Linked DNA regions of Homo sapiens: regions 1 and 2 are each linked to region 3. Evidence: promoter capture Hi-C in human tissues and cell types (Jung and others, 2019). All regions are on one chromosome and are shown on one strand. Each heading gives the region's core, a stretch centred on a gene start or on the middle of the fragment in contact. The rest is flanking DNA. Distances are from core to core; before and after follow the strand shown. Region 1 overlaps KNTC1 (kinetochore associated 1). Region 2 overlaps RSRC2 (arginine and serine rich coiled-coil 2). Region 3 holds the start of HCAR1 (hydroxycarboxylic acid receptor 1).

Region 1 (3,810 bases), core at 555-3,054, 140 kb after region 3:
TGTAATGATTAAAAGCTGAAAACAGTTTATATCTATAAGTGCCTACACATCAAAAAAGTAGAAAAAATTCATAAACAACCTAACAATACATCTTAAAGAAGTAGAAAAGGAAGAGCAAACCAAACAAAATTAGTAAAAGAAAAGAATAAAGATCAGAGCAGAAATAAATGAAATTGAAACAAAAACAATACCAAGGATCAACAAAACAAAAATTGGATTTTTTTTTGTTTCTTTGAGACAGGGTCTCATTCTGTTCCCCAGGCTAAAGTGCAGCGGCATGATCAAGGCTCACTGCAGTCTCAACCTCCTGGGCTCAAGTAATCCTCCCACCTCAACCTCTCAAGTAGCTGGAACTACAAGCATGCGCCACAACACTTCAGTGAATTTTTTTACCTTTGTAGAGATGGGGCTCTCACTATGTCACCAAGGCTGGTCTCCAACTCCTGGCCTCAAGCGATCCTCCTGCCTTGGCCCCTCAAAGTGTTGGGATTATAGGCGTTAGCCACCATACCTGGCCAAAAAGCTGTTTTGTTTTTTTTTTTTAAAGATAAAAAAAATCAGGCTGGGCACGTGATTCACGCCTGTAATCCCAGCACTTTGGGAGGCCGAGGCAGGTGGATCACGAGGTCAGGAGTTGGAGACCAGCCTGACCAATATGGTGAAACCCCATCTCTACCAAAAATACAAAAATTAGGCCAGGCATGGTGGCTCACGCCTGTAATCCTAGCACTTTGGGAGGTCGAGACGGGTGGATTGCCTGAGCTCAGGAGTTCAAGACCAGCCTAGGTAACATGGTGAAACCCGGTCTCTACTAAAATACAAATAATTAACCCGGCATGGTGGCATGCGCCTGTAATCCCAACTACTCAAGAGGCTGAGGCAGGAGAATCGCTTGAGCCCAGGAGGTGGAGGTTGCAGTGAGACAAGATTGCACCACTGCACTTCAGGCTGGGTGACAGAGCGAGACTCCGTCTCAAAAAAAAAAAAAAAAAAAAAGAATCTGGTTACTATAGACAAAATGACAACTGAAATGCCTTTTTAGACCCTATTAATAACACAGTGATAGTTTAATTTGCTATACAGCATAACTAAAATATCAATAAAAGGCTTAAGTACCACCATTTTCAAGTCACTCTCTGATATTCTAAAGTTTATCTAAATTTATTCAGATACACTGCCTGAGGCAGAAGTGTCACTATCATATGAATACAAATCATCAATGCCACGTAAGTAGAATAATTATGAAATGAACTTGACATTATAGCTATTTAAATTTCAAAAAAGTGTCCTGCACCATAAAACATCACAGAAGAATCTAGCAGTAGTTCAAATTAATAAAAAAGATAAGAGTGTGCATACCCTATTCTGGATTTATAACACTCTAAACTGAAGAATGACATAGTTTTGTTATTTCAAACTACTCTTTTAAGTCAGTGCTCCTTCGAGCTATGCGCAGCCTATAGTCCTTGACTTACAGGTACTAGATGGTGACAGCCACGGTCTTTCCCCACTATCCACAGAGACAAAGAACTAGATGCCTGCCCAGTGCAGGAAATGCACCAAGCAGTTTCATTCTCAATAACTCAGATTCCATTAATCTGTTACAAATCAGATGGAGGTTATAGCACCCATAATATTTTAGAAGCAGTCATTAATAATTTGACCTTGAGCAGGTCACATACTATGTTGTTTTCTCATATATCAACTGGCAACATATGCAATAAGAACTATAAAAATTAAATGAGGTGACAGATCTGAAAGCATTCTGAAACCAGAAAACGAGTCCTTGTATTTACTAGACAGAAACATCTGAGATATAAATTACAAATCATTTATCCCTACTTATCAAAGTCAGCGGAATCTATAAATAACACATTTTATCTTAGTTCTAAAAATTCTTGTTCAGGCGCAGTGGCTCACGCCTATAATCCCAGTACTTTGGGAGGCCGAGGCGGGTGAATCACTTGAGGTCAGGAGTTCGGGACCAGCCTGGCCAACATGGTGAAACCCCATCTCTATTAAAAATATAAAAATTAGCCAGGCGTGGTGGTGCATGCCTGTAATTCCAGCTACTTGGGAGGTTGAGGCCAGAGAATGGCTTGAAGGTGGAGGCTGCGGTGAGCTGAGATTACGCCACTGCACTCCAGCCTGGGTGACAGAGGGAGACTCCGTCTCAAATAAAGAAAGAAGTTAAATAAAAATAAAAATTCTTTTATAAACATTTTTAATAGGAAATTAGAAATTCTCCCTAAATCATACTTTTCATTAATTTTTAAGATTACTTTGCTCCCTAGTTAACCTGATTTAGAAGTTTATTACTCAGAAGAATATTCTCCAACTTTTCTGATCATAGGAATCACCTGAGCTCCTATTAGAGACCAGCGATTTCTAGGCCTTGGTCCAGACCCACTGAGTCAGAACTGCCAGAGAGGCCCAGAAACCTGCATTTGAAATCAAGTGCCCTAAGCAGTGCTTATCAGGAGACAAGTTTGGGAAACACTAAATGGTGAATTTAAATGGTGGTATCATAAGAGACTCTAATCTGATTTCATATTTACTCAGTTTGGGAATGAGCAAAAGAAAATAGTGGTCTATGGACCTCATAAAATAATCATCGTTATTACTGTGTTCTTGCAAAAGAATTACCAGTTTGTTAACAGCAAAAATACCGTTAATGTTTAAAGAATTACCTGCAATATTCCAAAATGAGGCTTGTGTCCATATCTATATTCTCCACAAGAGCTTTAATGAGGTCTTTCTTGGTGAGAAAATGTTGCCTGAAAACTGGTTGAAAAGAAATCTAGAAATAAAAAGAAAAAAACAAAGCAAAAAAACCCTCTACACTGAAATGTATCAGAGTAAGGGCAACATCATGACTTGCCTTCTTAGTATCCTTTTTCAAAAAGAAACATTTGTCTATAGCTCCTCCAACCTCACACTACCCAACCCAGCCATCATTCTGAGATTTGAGGTGTACATGGGTCCGAAACTCCTCTTAGTCATCCTAACCATTGCCTCTTCATCTGAAAAGTTTGATTGTTAATGTCAACAGAACACCAGTTCCATTACTGCAGAAGAATTAAGCTTCAAAACATATAGCATTTCTGTACTGATTACCTTTCTGATAAGTCAACTGTTGGCAAATAAAATGTCTTATATTTTTGGTAAAGAAAACAGGGTTTTGGCTCATGCCTATAATCCCAGCACTGTGGGAGGCTGAGGCGGGTGGATCACTTGAGGTCAGGAGTTTGAGACCAGCTTGGCCAACATGGAAACCTTGTCTCTACAAAAAAATACAAAACAATTAGCTGGGCATGGTGGTGCATGCCTGTAGTCCCAGCTACTCAGGAGGCTAAGCTGGGAGGATCACTTAGGCCCTAGAGGTCAAGGCTGCAGTGAGCCATGATAATGCCACTGCACTCCAGCCTGGGTGACAGAATGAGATCCTGTCAAAGACAAGATTGCGCCCTGCCTGCTTGTCTGTTCTTTTACAATGTCAAAAATAAAGCTCAAGGCTGGGCGCGGTAGCTCATGTCTGTAATCCCAGCACTTTGGGAGGCCGACGTGGGCGGATCACGAGGTCAAGAGATGGGAGACCATCCTGGCCAATACAGTGAAACCCTGTCTCTACTAAAATACAAAAAATTAGCCGGGCGTGGTGGTGCATGCCTGTAGTCCCAGCTACTTGGGAGGCTGAGGCAGGGGAATTGCCTGAGCCTGGGAGGCGGATGTTGCAGTGAGCCGAGATCGTCCCACTGCACTCCAGCCTGGCAAAAGAGCAAGACTCTGTCTCAAAAAAAAAAAAAAAAG
Region 2 (3,698 bases), core at 735-3,234, 220 kb after region 3:
TAAGGTTATATTCTGGACTGACAAAAATAGGTAATCAGAGGTGTCTTTTTTTACAGAGGACTGCTCAATCACAGTGGAAATACCAGGGCTTTATTGAACTTGGACTTAGCATAATACCTGCATACTGTTGTTGTTTTTGGGTTTTTTTTTGTTTTTGTTTTTGTTTTTTTTTTTGAGACGGAGGCTCATACTGTCGCCTGTGCTGGAGTACAGTGGCACAATCCTGACTCACAACAACCTCCACCTCTCGGGTTCAAGTGATTCTCCTGCCTCAGCCTCCTGAGTACCTGGGCTTATAGGCGCCTGCCACCACGCCTGGCTAATTTTTTTGTAGTTTTTATTTGAGACGGGGTTTCACTATGTTGGCCAGGCTGGTCTCGAACTCCTGACCTTGTGATCCGCCTGTCTTGGCCTCCTAAAGTGCTGGGATTACAGACGTGAGCCACTGCGCCCAGCCTTAGCTGCATACTGTTTTTCAAGTATATGATGTGAGCATCAAATGAAATGTCCATGAGAACATTTCATAAATTTAAAAAAATACAAGGTTTTATTGTTTTGTAATTATACCTTAGAAACACTATAGTTCATCTCCACTGAAATCATACTTTCTTACTATTTGCAGAATTCTCTATCCTCAAAGTAAATAAATGGGTTTTTTTTTTGTTTTGATACGGAGTTTCGCTCTTGTTGCCCAGGCTGGAGTGCAGTGGCATGATCTCGACTCACTGCAACCTTCGCCTTTTGGGTTCAAGTGATTCTCCTGCGTCAGCCTCCCGAGTAGCTGAGATTACGGGCATGTACCACCACGCCCGGCTAATTTTGTATTTTTGGTAGAGACGGGGTTTCTCCATGTTGGTCAGGCTGGTCTCGAACTCCCAACCTCAGGTGATCCGCCCACCTCAGCCTCCCAAAGTGCTGGGATTACAGGCGTGAGCCACTGCGCCTTGCAATAAATGGTTTATATATCAAGGGTTTATGTAGAAATATGTCCGTTGATGAACACAATAAATGTTTGCTAAAAACTTGTGAGCTAATACTCAGTCATTTCCTTGGATTTGGTGAAAATCCTGCCTTTTTGCACATTCATAGCTTTTTATAAATCGTTCGTTAATGTAAATCAGGAGGTTTATGTTTTAAAATCGTTTTAAAATCCATTTTTGTATTCTCTTCAAGCAGCTGCAGCTACTGGAGGTTCTGTTCTCAATGTTGCTGCCCTGTTGGCATCAGGAACACAAGTAACACCTCAGATAGCCATGGCAGCTCAGATGGCAGCCCTGCAAGCTAAAGCTTTGGCAGAGACAGGAATAGCTGTTCCTAGCTACTATAACCCAGCCGCTGTTAATCCAATGAAATTTGCTGAACAAGAGAAAAAAAGGAAAATGCTTTGGCAGGGCAAGAAAGAAGGGGTAAGTTCTCTTATTCTGCTTTTCTGTCGTTTATTCCTAATTAGTAATTGCTTAGAAAAACAAATTTGGGTTGAAAAATATTACTTTCGGCTTAACTTTGTAAGAACCTGGGGTGGCCAGACGCGGGTGGCTTATGCCTTTAATCCCAGCACTTTGGGATGCCAAGTGAGCGGATCAGTTGAGGTAAGGAGTCCAAGACCAGCCTGGCCAACATGGCAAAACCCTGTCTCTACTGAAAAGAAGATAAAAATCAGCTGGGTGTGGTGGCACACACCTGTAATCCCAGGTGCTTGGGAGGCTGAGGCAGGAGAATCGCTTGAGCCTGGGATGCAGAGCCTACATACAGTGAGCCAAGATCATGCCACTTAGCCAGGCATGGTGGTGGGCACCTGTAATCCCAGCTACTTGGGAGGCTGAAACAGGAGAATCACTTGATCCTGGGAGGCGGAGGTTGCAGTGAGTTTCCAGCGAAACTCCATCTGGAAAAAAAAAAAAAAAATCACGCCACTGCACTTCAGCCTGGGTGAGACCCTGTCTCAAAAAACTTATAATAAGCTATGATAGTCTTATTTGCCAGTTATTAATACTAAAATAAAACATAATTGATTGAAGTCAAGCTTTCAAAGAAAACTAATATTACCATAGAAGTAGTAAGGAAAAGAGGCTACTTGGTTTAGAATTTTTCATAGATTATGAGGTACTTTTTTTTTTTTGACATTATTTGCAATGACAAATGACATTAAATGCAAATGACATGCAGTCGCAAAAATTGCATGTTGAAAAAGGTCTATGACAGGAAAATAATCCATTTTTTTATTTTATTTTTATTATTTTTGAGACAGAGTCTTGCTCTTGTCACCCAGGCTGGAATGCAGTGGTGTGATCTCAGCTCACTGCAACCTCTGCCTCCCAGGTTCAAGCAATTCTCCTGCCTCAGACTCCTGAGACCCTCCTGGGTCTACAGGTGCCCACCACCATGCCAGGCTAGTTTTTTGTATTTTTAGTAGAGACGGGGTTTCACCTAGTCATCCAGGCTAGTCTCGATCCCCTGACCTCAGGTGATTTGCCCACCTCGGCCTTCCAAAGTGCTGGGATTATAGGAGTGAAGCACGGCGCCAACCTCTTGCTTGTATTTCTTTGCTTTGTGGTTTCTTAAGTCTTGAAATAATTAAACTTACATTGATTGAATGCTATCCATGGTGTTTTTTTTTTTAATTTAGACATTGTTGAGAGATTTCATGTCCTAAAAAATATTTAAATTTTACATATTTTAAAGTTCAGTGTTTGTTAACAGGACAAATCCCAATCTGCTGAAATATGGGAAAAATTGAATTTTGGAAACAAGGACCAAAATGTCAAATTTAGGAAATTGATGGGTATTAAGGTGAGTTTCACATGTGCCAGGGGATCTTTGTATTAGCTATTAGCCCTCCTGCACTGTTCTTCCCTCATTTTCTTAGTTCTGGTCTTTACTCAGGTGTCAGCGTTTTTGAGTTCTTTCCCACCACCTTTTGTGAAATAACAAGCAATCCCATTCTGAAACATTTCCATCTCCCCTACCCACTGTCCTCCCTACACACACACTTGGAGAGAGAGAGAGAGACGGGGTTTTGCTCTGCTTGCTCTGTCACTTGGGCTGGAGTACAGTGGTGCAGTCATACCTCACTGCAGCCTTAAACTTCGAGGCTCAAGCAGTCCTTCCACCTCGGCCTCTCAAAGCCCTGGATCACAGTTCTGAGCCACTGCGCCCAGCCTCCATCCCCATTTTCTACTTTACTTTCCTCTGTGGCATTTATACCCTGACATCTTCTACATATTATGTTTTTTCCAACCTACTAAACTGAAGTTAACTTTTGTTACACCCTGCTATATTCCAGACCTAGAAAGAACATTGCCTTGTCCTTTGGAGGTGTTCAATAATGAATGGAAATTAAGTTATTGAGATCAAATACATATCCCAAAAGTATATTTTTGTTTGTTTGTTTTTTGTTTTTAGTATAGACGGGGTTTCACCATGTTGGCCAGGCTAGTCTCGAAATCCTGACCTCAGGTGATCCACCCGTCTCAGCCTCCCAAAGTGCTGGGATTACAGGCGTGAGCCACACTGCACCCGGCCAAAAGTATAATTTAATAGTGTCAGCCTAGTTCACACCTGTAATCCCAACACTTCGGGAGGCCGGGGGGCAGGCGGCAGGGGGGATCCCTGAGGTCAGGAGTTCGAGACCAGCCTGACCAATGTGGTGAAACCCCGTCTCTACTGAAAATACAAAAATTAGCTGGGCGTGGTGGCAT
Region 3 (3,988 bases), core at 165-2,664:
CAGACACATTCTTTCAATGCACCCCCTCTTTTCCGCCCCATTTTTTTTTTTTGAGACAGAGTTTCTTTCTGTCACCCAGGCTGGAGTTCATTGGCACGATCTCGGCTCACTGCAACCTCCACCTCCCGGGTTCAAGTGATTCTCCTGCCTCAGCCTCCTGAGTAACTGGGATTACAGACACATGCCACAACACCTGACTGATTTTTGTATATTTTTAGTAGAGATGGGGTTTCACCATGTTGGCAAGGCTGGTCTTGTACTCCTGACCTCAAGTCATCCACCTGCCTCGGCCTCCCAAAGTGCTGGGATTATAGATGTGAGCCACCGCGACTGGCCTCCACCCCATTTTCTTCTTTCTTTCTTTTTTCTTTTTCTTTTTCTTGTTGTTTTGTTTGTTTGTTTGTTTGTTTGTTTTAGACGGAGTCTGGTTCTGTCACCCAGACTGGAGTGCAGTGGCGCAATCTTGGCTCCCTGCAAGCTCTGCCTCCCGGGTTCACGCCATTCTCCTGCCTCAGCCTCCCGAGTAGCTGGGACTACAGGCGCCCGCCACCACGCCTGGCTCATTTTTTTGTATTTTTAGTAGAGACGGGGTTTTACCGTGTTAGCCAGGATGGTCTCCATCTCCTGACCTGGTGATCCGCCCGCCTGGGCCTACCAAAGTGCTTGGATTACAAGCGTGAGCCACCGCGCCCGGCCTCCACCCCATTTTCTAAACTGGAAGCTGAAAGGCACAGGGCAGATTAATAATCCTTAAAGCCAAAGGACAGGAAATTTTAGCAAAGACTCCAATTTTTTGTGCAGTCTAATGTTACTCATGATTGCTTTAGAGATGGACTCCTTAATCAACTCCTCCAATCCTCTTCCGCCCCCAGGGGGCAGTTTTAATTGATGGGCTCAGCACATAATTGAAATTAAAAACGTACATCTCATGGTGTTTGGCTCATTCAACAGCCAATGGAAACTCAGGGCCAAATCTTTGTAAAAGTTCTAGGCTCTGCTTCCCAGCAGAGGGGGAAACCGGCTCCCAAAGAGGCCGTTTTGTGGAGACAGACATATGAGAAGTGGGCTTCAGATCTATTTCATGGTCTTGGTGGTTGTGCAACTGGCCACTTTGGTTCACGGAAGGATGTAAAGGGCAGGGAGGTGGGAATAGAGCGGGGGAAAGGTGACTCCCGTCAAAGAATTTTTCTAACATCCATCAAGTATCGTGATTAGAACTTTTCTCTCCGCAGACTCCTCCAATTTTTGAGCGCGGTATTTTTCGGCACAGGAAATGGCCCGGAGGAGCTGCAGAGCAAAGCCTCCCCTCTCTGGCACCGCATGGGAGTGCCCCGTGGGATGAGGGAGAGGACAAGGCAGTCAGGCAAAGGTTACGGGAGGAAAGCAAAGGCAGGAGCCCAGAACCACTCCAGGAAATGTTTGGATTTCTCCACCAGGAGGGAGGACAAACAAGCTTTCTTCTTGCCTTCTGGGCAGCTTTGTGTGCTCTCCAGCACGGAGTCCGAGGAGGAACAGCGAAGCTGAAAATGAAAATTACTCTGGCGCTGGACCCAATCGCTCCTCTACGGCATCAATCTCATCGGACCCCCCCACCCTACCGCCTCTCAGAAATGACCACTTTTGCAAAATTGCATGCATTTCCAAGCTTCATCCGGCTCCAGGCTTGGCCTCTCCCAGAGGCAGGCGGCTTGTGAGACGGGCTCCAGAGAAAGGACCTCCCTGGGTCTCTCATTTCCTGGCTGAAGTTTCTCTTCTCGCTGCTGTGGCAGCATCCAACCCACACACACAGGACCCGCATCCTGGGTGATGAAGTCAGACACGCAGCAGCTGGGTGAGTGCTAACGCTCAGATAAGCATCTGTGCCATTGTGGGGACTCCCTGGGCTGCTCTGCACCCGGACACTTGCTCTGTCCCCGCCATGTACAACGGGTCGTGCTGCCGCATCGAGGGGGACACCATCTCCCAGGTGATGCCGCCGCTGCTCATTGTGGCCTTTGTGCTGGGCGCACTAGGCAATGGGGTCGCCCTGTGTGGTTTCTGCTTCCACATGAAGACCTGGAAGCCCAGCACTGTTTACCTTTTCAATTTGGCCGTGGCTGATTTCCTCCTTATGATCTGCCTGCCTTTTCGGACAGACTATTACCTCAGACGTAGACACTGGGCTTTTGGGGACATTCCCTGCCGAGTGGGGCTCTTCACGTTGGCCATGAACAGGGCCGGGAGCATCGTGTTCCTTACGGTGGTGGCTGCGGACAGGTATTTCAAAGTGGTCCACCCCCACCACGCGGTGAACACTATCTCCACCCGGGTGGCGGCTGGCATCGTCTGCACCCTGTGGGCCCTGGTCATCCTGGGAACAGTGTATCTTTTGCTGGAGAACCATCTCTGCGTGCAAGAGACGGCCGTCTCCTGTGAGAGCTTCATCATGGAGTCGGCCAATGGCTGGCATGACATCATGTTCCAGCTGGAGTTCTTTATGCCCCTCGGCATCATCTTATTTTGCTCCTTCAAGATTGTTTGGAGCCTGAGGCGGAGGCAGCAGCTGGCCAGACAGGCTCGGATGAAGAAGGCGACCCGGTTCATCATGGTGGTGGCAATTGTGTTCATCACATGCTACCTGCCCAGCGTGTCTGCTAGACTCTATTTCCTCTGGACGGTGCCCTCGAGTGCCTGCGATCCCTCTGTCCATGGGGCCCTGCACATAACCCTCAGCTTCACCTACATGAACAGCATGCTGGATCCCCTGGTGTATTATTTTTCAAGCCCCTCCTTTCCCAAATTCTACAACAAGCTCAAAATCTGCAGTCTGAAACCCAAGCAGCCAGGACACTCAAAAACACAAAGGCCGGAAGAGATGCCAATTTCGAACCTCGGTCGCAGGAGTTGCATCAGTGTGGCAAATAGTTTCCAAAGCCAGTCTGATGGGCAATGGGATCCCCACATTGTTGAGTGGCACTGAACAAGCAGACCAACAACACTGAGGAAGATAGAGTGGTGACTTAGAATTAACTCGTGCTAAGGGGTCGGGGGCTTTGAAAATGCCACCCCCCTTTCTTATTGCAAGACGGCTTCTCGCACATGAACTGCATCCTTCTCATTCTGTCGGAAATGAAATTCACACAACTATACCTTTTGGGGAGGTTCCAGTTGATTGAAGTGAGTTGGCTGCATTTTCTTATCTGATCACAATGGCAGGGGACAGAATGTGCATGGAGTGGAGCATGTGTGTGTTGGGAGGGGGGCTAGGAACTGCACAGCCCTTGTGTAATTTTCGTTGTTTGTTTTTGTTTTGAGACAGAGTCTCACTCTGTGTCCCAGGCTGGAGTGCAGTGGCACAGTCTCGGCTCACTGCAACCTCTGCCTCCCGGGTTCAAGCAATTCTCCTGCCTCAGCCTCCCGAGTAGCTGGGATTAGAGGCGCCAGCCAACACACCCGGCTAATTTTTGTATTTTTAGTAGAGACAGGGTTTTGCCATGTTGGCCAGGCTGGTCTCGAGCTCCTGACCTCAGGTGATCCGCCTGCCTTGGCCTCCCAAAGTGGTGGGATCACAGGCGTGAGCCACCGTGCCTGGCCTCCCCTGTGTCATTTTAAATGGCTAAGTAAATGGGTATATGTGTTTGAATGGGGCATGTTCACTCTCTTAGGGGCTATGGGGCAGTTAGCAGCATTTCCTATCCTCTGACCTTAAATCATTCCTTATCTCAGAAAACAGAAACCGGGCTCAGTCAATCAATGCTTTATTTCAGGCCGAATGAGGCTCTTTAGATTGGGATCTATTGATCTATCAATTTTCATCTTTACATTTCTTTGTACATCTGTACATTTTGTCCAAATGTACATCTGTACGTCTGTCATCATTGTGACTTCCTGGTAGCCCAAGAAGAACAACAACAAAACAATCTGCTCTGACCTTCTTCAAATCTTTGTATTTCAAAGAAGGTGCTGAGGGATCTGTTTCCTTGCCCTGGCTTCTCCAGTGGGATGTGCT

The links. The method cuts DNA at HindIII sites, captures the fragments that hold promoters and counts their contacts. A contact is called where the count stands out against the background at its distance.
Region 1: a fragment that was not itself captured here is called in contact with the fragment with the promoter of HCAR1 in region 3 in 4 of the 25 tissues and cell types used here (liver, lymphoblastoid cells, mesenchymal stem cells and 1 more).
Region 2: a fragment that was not itself captured here is called in contact with the fragment with the promoter of HCAR1 in region 3 in 3 of the 25 tissues and cell types used here (dorsolateral prefrontal cortex, lymphoblastoid cells and thymus).

Annotation. Positions count from the first base shown.
Region 1 is chr12:122,593,266-122,597,075 of GRCh38, reverse strand. KNTC1 (kinetochore associated 1) reads right to left here. Exons shown (of 64, transcript NM_014708.6): 43 at 2,691-2,800. Among named protein-coding and RNA genes, the nearest start is that of KNTC1, 68 kb to the right of the region's middle. The HindIII fragment of the contact is 8,363 bases long and covers 1-3,810 here.
Region 2 is chr12:122,505,926-122,509,623 of GRCh38, reverse strand. It overlaps RSRC2 (arginine and serine rich coiled-coil 2), which reads left to right. Exons shown (of 10, transcript NM_023012.6): 8 at 1,177-1,406; 9 at 2,701-2,790. Among named protein-coding and RNA genes, the nearest start is that of ZCCHC8, 6.8 kb to the right of the region's middle. The HindIII fragment of the contact is 4,115 bases long and covers 1-3,698 here.
Region 3 is chr12:122,728,270-122,732,257 of GRCh38, reverse strand. HCAR1 (hydroxycarboxylic acid receptor 1) reads left to right here and starts at 1,414. Exons shown (of 1, transcript NM_032554.4): 1 at 1,414-3,988. The coding sequence starts at 1,919. The coding sequence ends at 2,959. RefSeq lists an enhancer at 1,985-2,652. The HindIII fragment of the contact is 12,382 bases long and covers 1-3,988 here.